Regions from separate parts of the Homo sapiens genome. Here region 1 is linked to region 2. The links are contacts of gene promoters, found by promoter capture Hi-C in blood cells and fetal thymus (Javierre and others, 2016). All regions are on one chromosome and are shown on one strand. Each heading gives the region's core, a stretch centred on a gene start or on the middle of the fragment in contact. The rest is flanking DNA. Distances are from core to core; before and after follow the strand shown.

Region 1 (3,139 bases), core at 378-2,877, 1.0 Mb after region 2:
GAGAGTATCATCGAGCTGCAAAACAAGACACCTGTCTGGAATGATGACACACAGTCCTATGTACTCAACTTCCATGGGCGCGTCACACAGGCCTCCGTGAAGAACTTCCAGATCATCCATGGCAATGACCGTGAGTGTTTCTGTCCCTACTCATTATGGTCCGTAGGATACCCAAGGCCCTTAGCGTAGGGTTCAGCCCACCTAGCCCTGCCTACACTGGCTAGAGTTTAAGAATGTGAGCTATACAGCTAAGGTTAGATGTATGGAACTTTCTAACCCTAATGACTGGGAGGTCCTGGAAGAACCTTCTTTGCAGCCCTGGTCCTAGATTCTGTGTATTCAACGGAGTCTCAGGCACGGGAACACCCTTTAAAAGGACTTTTCCTCTTTTCTGTCCCCTGGTGTTCACATGCATCTTACTTTGTCCTTTGCCATCTGCCACCTCTTTCCTGCCACTTCTCCCAATTGGCCTTTGTTTTACTTCCCTTTGTGATTCCCCTGGCATCTCTGCTTCTCACTTGTTCTTCCCTCATGTGGTTTGGGTGTCTGTCTATCCTTCCCTGGCTCTACCATTCCTGTCCTGTCCTTTTCTCTGTCTGTGCCTGTGCTTGGCCCCAGCGGACTACATCGTGATGCAGTTTGGCCGGGTAGCAGAGGATGTGTTCACCATGGATTACAACTACCCGCTGTGTGCACTGCAGGCCTTTGCCATTGCCCTGTCCAGCTTCGACAGCAAGCTGGCGTGCGAGTAGAGGCCTCTTCGTGCCCTTTGGGGTTGCCCAGCCTGGAGCGGAGCTTGCCTGCCTGCCTGTGGAGACAGCCCTGCCTATCCTCTGTATATAGGCCTTCCGCCAGATGAAGCTTTGGCCCTCAGTGGGCTCCCTGGCCCAGCCAGCCAGGAACTGGCTCCTTTGCCTCTGCTACTGAGGCAGGGGAGTAGTGGAGAGCGGGTGGGTGGGTGTGAAGGGATGAGAATAATTCTTTCCATGCCACGAGATCAACACACACTCCCACCCTTGGGGTAGTAGTGTGTTGTAGTCGTACTTACCAAGCTGAGCAACCTCTTCAGCTGGGAAGGCCGCAAGAGGCATAGAGGGAGAGGAAGCACACTGCAGGGCTGCTGTGGCCCAGTCGTCCGCTCAGCCAAGGAGTCAGATGGCAATGGGTACTCCAGCAGGTAGGGGCACAGTGAATGTGTGTATGTATGAAGGCCACATCAACTTTATGTAGCAAAGGGCTTGGTGGCCAAGCCTGGCCCTTAAACAACTGCAGAAAGCCCTTCAACTTCAGAAGGCCTCACTCAAGCCTGAGAGAAGTTGGGAGGGTGGTGGGGACAGGTAAGTGGCAGGACCCTGTCAGGATTGCAGGTGCCTGGCTTGCTGTGGCTATGGGAATCAGCTGGTGGCTAGGTTTCTAGCGCATTTGATTTCTCCAGGTTTGCTGTGTCTCACAGAGGCAGTAGGAACCCAGCTCTCAGGGCTGTCTTGGTGGATGGGCCCTGCAAGACACAGGCTCAGCATGCAGAAGTGCATGAACAGGGTCCCTGGATCAGGGTTGTTCTGGGAGTCCTGTCAGCTTCCCCAGGAGCTCTCTGCTGAGCAGCCCAGCACAACCCCCAGGAAACACAAATGGGGTCCAGGTCACCAGCCTGACTGCACACAGCTAGGCATGCCTGGGAATCCTGCTGCCAGAGAACCATTCCCAAGCCATGGCATGCTCCTTGAAGAATCTCTCCTCTCTCTCTCTCTCTGGAAAGACCCAACTTTCTCACTGCTGTCAGCCAAGTCATGGTTGGTAACCATGTAGGTTCTTGGGAGGGAATGGGACAGGGTGAATAAAGCAGGGAATATTTTAGAACCACAAGAGATCAGCAGTGGCAGGACCCTTAGGAATCTAGTACAACCTTGTTGCTTTAGGTGAGTCACACTCAGAAAATGGGGCTTGCCCTGGGTCACCTAGCTGGTTAATGGCAGCATTCAGAACTTCAAGTTCTCTTGATTTCTTTGTTCCCACTGTCCCCCAAGAAACTAGTATCTCTGGCCTCCTGGGGGCCCATTCTGCATGCCCTCCCCACTTCCCCCGATTCAGAGACTTAGAAGCATCAGAGTTGATAAATTAGATTGAAACCATTCCAGTAGGAAATCAGGCAGTTCCCTGTTGAAAGTTGTCTGGCTTTTTGCACGTGAGTATGATCCAGGATTGGCCTGTGTCTGGCCCCTCCGCGAGGGCTACTCAGCAGTAAGCAGGCCTTAGTACGGCTGCTGCACACTTCTCGGTCTAGGTGGGAGAGAGTGCATAAAGGTTCTGGGGCTGGGCCTGAGCCTAACTCCCTCCACTACCGCTATTTCTCCTTGGATGGCACCATCCACCCTGCAGGCTTGGGAACTGTAAGCTCAAGCTTTTGCTCATTTGTCATTTACCCTGGTGGAGGCTTCTTGCCCAGATAGAGATCTGAAATTGGTGGGAAGCAAGCAGGGGTCGTACCTTGCTTTAGAGTAGATGTTTGGAAAAGCTAAGTAGAAATTTTTTAAAATAGAAGTTGTATTTTAAACGTGTTAGGCTTTATAGGTGAAGGACTTGTTTTGACTTAAGTAGAAGTAATATGCTCTCATTTCTTTGTAATCTAGATTTTCCTATGTTGAATGCTTAAAGCAAGGCATACCTGTCCTAGCAGGATCTGCCCACACCTCGGCCGTACATCTCTGTGAGAGACCCCCTCCAACGATTAGCTTTTGCAACATGGTCCAGTTTCTAGAGGGCACTAGAACTTTGTGCCAGCGCTGGCGAGATACCATGGTGCCATCCTCCTTTCTATAGTTCCAGTTTAGCCCTTCCCTGCCTTTAAGGAGAAGAGATCTTCATGGTGACATTTGAGATGATGGAAACTAGATCGTCTCTAATGTTAGGTCAAGCTATTTCTCTGGATCTATGATTTTAAGATAGAACAGGCTGGTTCTGAGTTCTGGTGAGACGGAGACCCCGGTGGCAGTGGAAAAATCAGAAGCACAAAGGAAAACTCTTGGCCTCTGCTTTCTCCTGTAGCACAAAGAGGGAGTTGGCTGGATCTTTTGGTGGAGTCAGGAAAGACAGGCTGAGCTTTCTAGCCTAAGTGTGGAGAAGGATAGCCTCAGCCACAAAA
Region 2 (3,769 bases), core at 623-3,122:
GCCAAAGCTCATTCTTTTCTGCTGACTGCAAATTCTCTTCCTTCACCAACTGCAAATCAGAAAATCTTTGAATCTACCTATGACCTGTAAGCCCCCCACTTCAAGAGATATCTCTCCTTTGGGCCAATACCAATGTGTAACCTCCATGTATTGACTTATGATTTTGTCTGTAACTTCTGCTTTCCTGAAATTTACATTTTCCTTTAAAAACCTTTACCTGTAAGCCATCATGGAGGTCAGAATTTAAGAGTAGCTGCCTGGTCTTCCTTGCTTGGAGCCCTGCAAATAAATGCCCTCCTTTTTCCTGCTGCAAACCTCAGTGTGGCTATCTGGTCTTATTGTGCCAGGAGAGCATATCTCAGTTAGGTTTGATTAGTAAGTGGCACAAGTGAACCCTCTGGAGTGATGGAAATGTTATAGATTTTAATGTGGGTCATGGTTACATGGATATACACACGTAAAATTAAGCAGTAAACTTGATTTTATAAGTAAATTTATAAACTTAGCATTTTTAAGTTAGCATTCAATAAAAACATTAAGGGCAGTCATTCGAAAAAGTAGAAATAGAAGGCATAACTTCTTCCATAGTGGAGGAAAAAGAAACAAAGACAAATCACTTACTACAAGAAAAGGCAAGAAAGATGGAAAAAAGGAAGAAGGAAAGGTTTGGCTGATAGCAAAGATTTAGGAAGAAATTGCAAAAGTACCGAAAGTTATAAGCATCACACAAAATGGACTAAGGTAAAAAGGTTTTTACGAATAAGGAGGATCATTACATAAAAAAGGTATTCACCAGAAATACGTAGCAATTCTCAATTTTTATATATCTCACAATATAACCTTAAATTACATGAAGCAAAAACCAGACATAAAGACAAAGAGAAATTTACAAATCCACAATTATGGTAAATTTTAAGACAGTTCTAGTGTTTGGCAATTCTATCAAATAAAAAACAAGTTAGAAAAGGGAAGATTTAAATATCAGAAAATAAGAAAGAACTTTGTCCAACATTTAGAGAATACACTTTCTGCTCAGTATATATGGAACATTAATTACACCATATTAGGTCACAAAGCAAGTCTCAACGAAAAACAATGGATATCGTACAGAGCATATTAAAAAATAACCAACAGGCACATATGTTTGAAAATTTACAAACATACTTCTTTAATACATGGTCCAAAAAGGAAATAACAAAGATGAGAAAATCTTAGGAACTGAACAACAATGAAAACAACATATATTACAGCTCAAGGCATGATATTAACCAGTGCATAGAGAATAAGTTTTAACCTTAAATATAACAATTAGAAGAAACATTTTTTAAACTCTTAATGTGCTAAGTGTCTTATTTAAAAAATTAGAACAAAATAATATAAACAATAAATCCAATAAATGTAGAAAGAATAAAGACAATAGCACCAAATAAAATCAAAACAGAGGATAGACGAGGCTAAAAGCTGATTAGTTTAAAAAGATCAGTAAGGTAAAATTTAAACTTGTTAACTGTTATTACTCTATTTTTCAATAATTGAAAAATGATTTTTAACTTAATAATTTTAGTAATTTAAAAAATTCATACTATTTTTTTCTGTTTGAAAATGGTTTGGGTAGCTTAGGTTTGGGATCATTACAATTGTTCTCATTAAAACTAATAGAAAAAAATTTTTTTCCACCTAACGGCTTTTCCCTGAGCTTTCAGGAGGCCATTGAAGCCGTTAAGACCGGGTCAGGTGAACAGGAAGTTAAAGACTGAAAAGGAGACACAAAACTGCCGACTTTCCCGACGGCGAATTGGCCCTCTGGAAACAGCCGACCAATCACAGGCAGCAGGGGCGCGCCCTGCAGCGGGGCTCCGGCTGCGGTTCCGTGGACTCGGCGACTAGGCGCCGCCTGACCAGTAGGAGCCGCCCTCGACGAGCGAGCTCGAAGGCTGCGACTGGCGCCGCCTCACCGCCTCCCACCGCCACTGACCGACCGTTCGACCGGCAAACATGGTTGAAGCGGATCGCCCGGGGAAGCTGTTCATTGGGGGCCTCAACCTCGAAACCGACGAGAAAGCCCTCGAAGCCGAGTTTGGCAAGTATGGCCGCATCGTCGAGGTGCTCCTGATGAAAGACCGAGAAACCAACAAGTCGAGGGGCTTCGCGTTCGTCACCTTTGAAAGCCCCGCAGACGCCAAGGCCGCCGCCAGAGACATGAACGGCAAGTCCCTGGATGGTAAGGCCATCAAGGTGGCCCAGGCCACCAAACCGGCGTTCGAGAGCAGCCGGCGGGGCCCGCCGCCTCCCCGCAGCCGCGGTCGCCCGAGGTTCCTGCGCGGAACCCGCGGGGGTGGCGGCGGCCCGCGGCGTTCCCCATCCCGGGGCGGGCCCGATGATGACGGCGGCTACACGGCGGATTTCGACCTGCGGCCCTCCAGGGCCCCGATGCCCATGAAGCGTGGGCCGCCGCCGCGCAGGGTCGGCCCACCCCCCAAGAGGGCCGCGCCGTCGGGCCCGGCTCGCAGCAGCGGCGGTGGAATGCGCGGGAGGGCCCTGGCCGTGCGGGGGCGAGACGGCTACTCAGGCCCACCGCGCCGGGAGCCGCTGCCCCCGCGCCGCGACCCCTACCTGGGCCCGCGGGATGAGGGCTACTCGTCCAGAGACGGCTACTCGAGCCGAGACTACCGCGAACCCCGGGGTTTTGCCCCCTCGCCCGGAGAGTACACCCACCGCGATTACGGCCACTCCAGTGTCCGGGACGACTGTCCCTTGAGAGGCTACAGCGACCGAGACGGCTACGGAGGTCGCGACCGTGACTACGGGGATCATCTGAGCAGAGGCTCCCATCGAGAGCCCTTTGAGAGCTACGGAGAGCTGCGCGGCGCCGCCCCAGGACGGGGGACACCGCCATCTTACGGAGGAGGAGGCCGCTACGAGGAGTACCGGGGCTACTCACCCGATGCCTACAGCGGCGGCCGCGACAGTTACAGCAGCAGTTATGGCCGGAGCGACCGCTACTCGAGGGGCCGACACCGGGTGGGCAGACCAGATCGTGGGCTCTCTCTGTCCATGGAAAGGGGCTGCCCTCCCCAGCGTGATTCTTACAGCCGGTCAGGCTGCAGGGTGCCCAGGGGCGGAGGCCGTCTAGGAGGCCGCTTGGAGAGAGGAGGAGGCCGGAGCAGATACTAAGCAGGAACAGACTTGGGACCAAAAATCCCTTTTCAACGAAACTAACAAAAAGAAGAACCTGTTGTATGGTAACTACCCAAGGACTAGTACAAGGAAGAGTTGTTTTTACCTTTTAAGAATTTCCTGTTAAGATCGTCTCCATTTTTATGCTTTTGGGAGAAAAAACTTAAAATTCGTTTAGTTTAGTTTTGGAATTGTTAACGTTTCTTTCAACAAGCTCCTGTTAAAAGTATATGAACCTGAGTACTAGTCTTCTTACATTTACAAGTAGAAATTCGATTAATGGCTTCTTCCCTTGTAAATTTTCTTGATAAATGAGGCAAACAGTTCTAAGATCTTTGATAAACATCTGCTCACCTAAAATGGAAAAACGGATCATTCTGCTCATTTAAACCAACTAGATTTTGGGTGGAGAGTGGGAGGGATTGGTGTATGCTACTCTTAAGATTTCAGGGTATCTTTCAAACTGAATCTTTGTTTCCAGTATTAAAAAGCAAACAACCAGCAACAACAACAACAAAAGTGATTTAGATCAAATGTTTATGTAAAGAAAATTATTTTCACTCAGTAAATCTGAAAAGTAAATGGATAATGT

The links. Contacts are between HindIII fragments. The CHiCAGO score rates a contact against its expected background, and 5 or more counts as called.
Region 1: a fragment that was not itself captured here is called in contact with the fragment with the promoter of RBMXL2 in region 2 in 1 of 17 cell types (naive B cells); the score reaches 6.5 in naive B cells.

The regions. Positions count from the first base shown.
Region 1 is chr11:8,100,868-8,104,006 of GRCh38, forward strand. It overlaps TUB (TUB bipartite transcription factor), which reads left to right. Exons shown (of 12, transcript NM_177972.3): 11 at 1-130; 12 at 619-3,139. The coding sequence ends at 752. It also overlaps a transcript of RIC3 not described here. Among named protein-coding and RNA genes, the nearest start is that of TUB, 21 kb to the left of the region's middle. The HindIII fragment of the contact is 1,537 bases long and covers 860-2,396 here.
Region 2 is chr11:7,087,126-7,090,894 of GRCh38, forward strand. RBMXL2 (RBMX like 2) reads left to right here and starts at 1,873. Exons shown (of 1, transcript NM_014469.5): 1 at 1,873-3,769. The coding sequence starts at 1,996. The coding sequence ends at 3,174. It also overlaps a transcript of NLRP14 not described here. The HindIII fragment of the contact is 13,917 bases long and covers 1-3,769 here.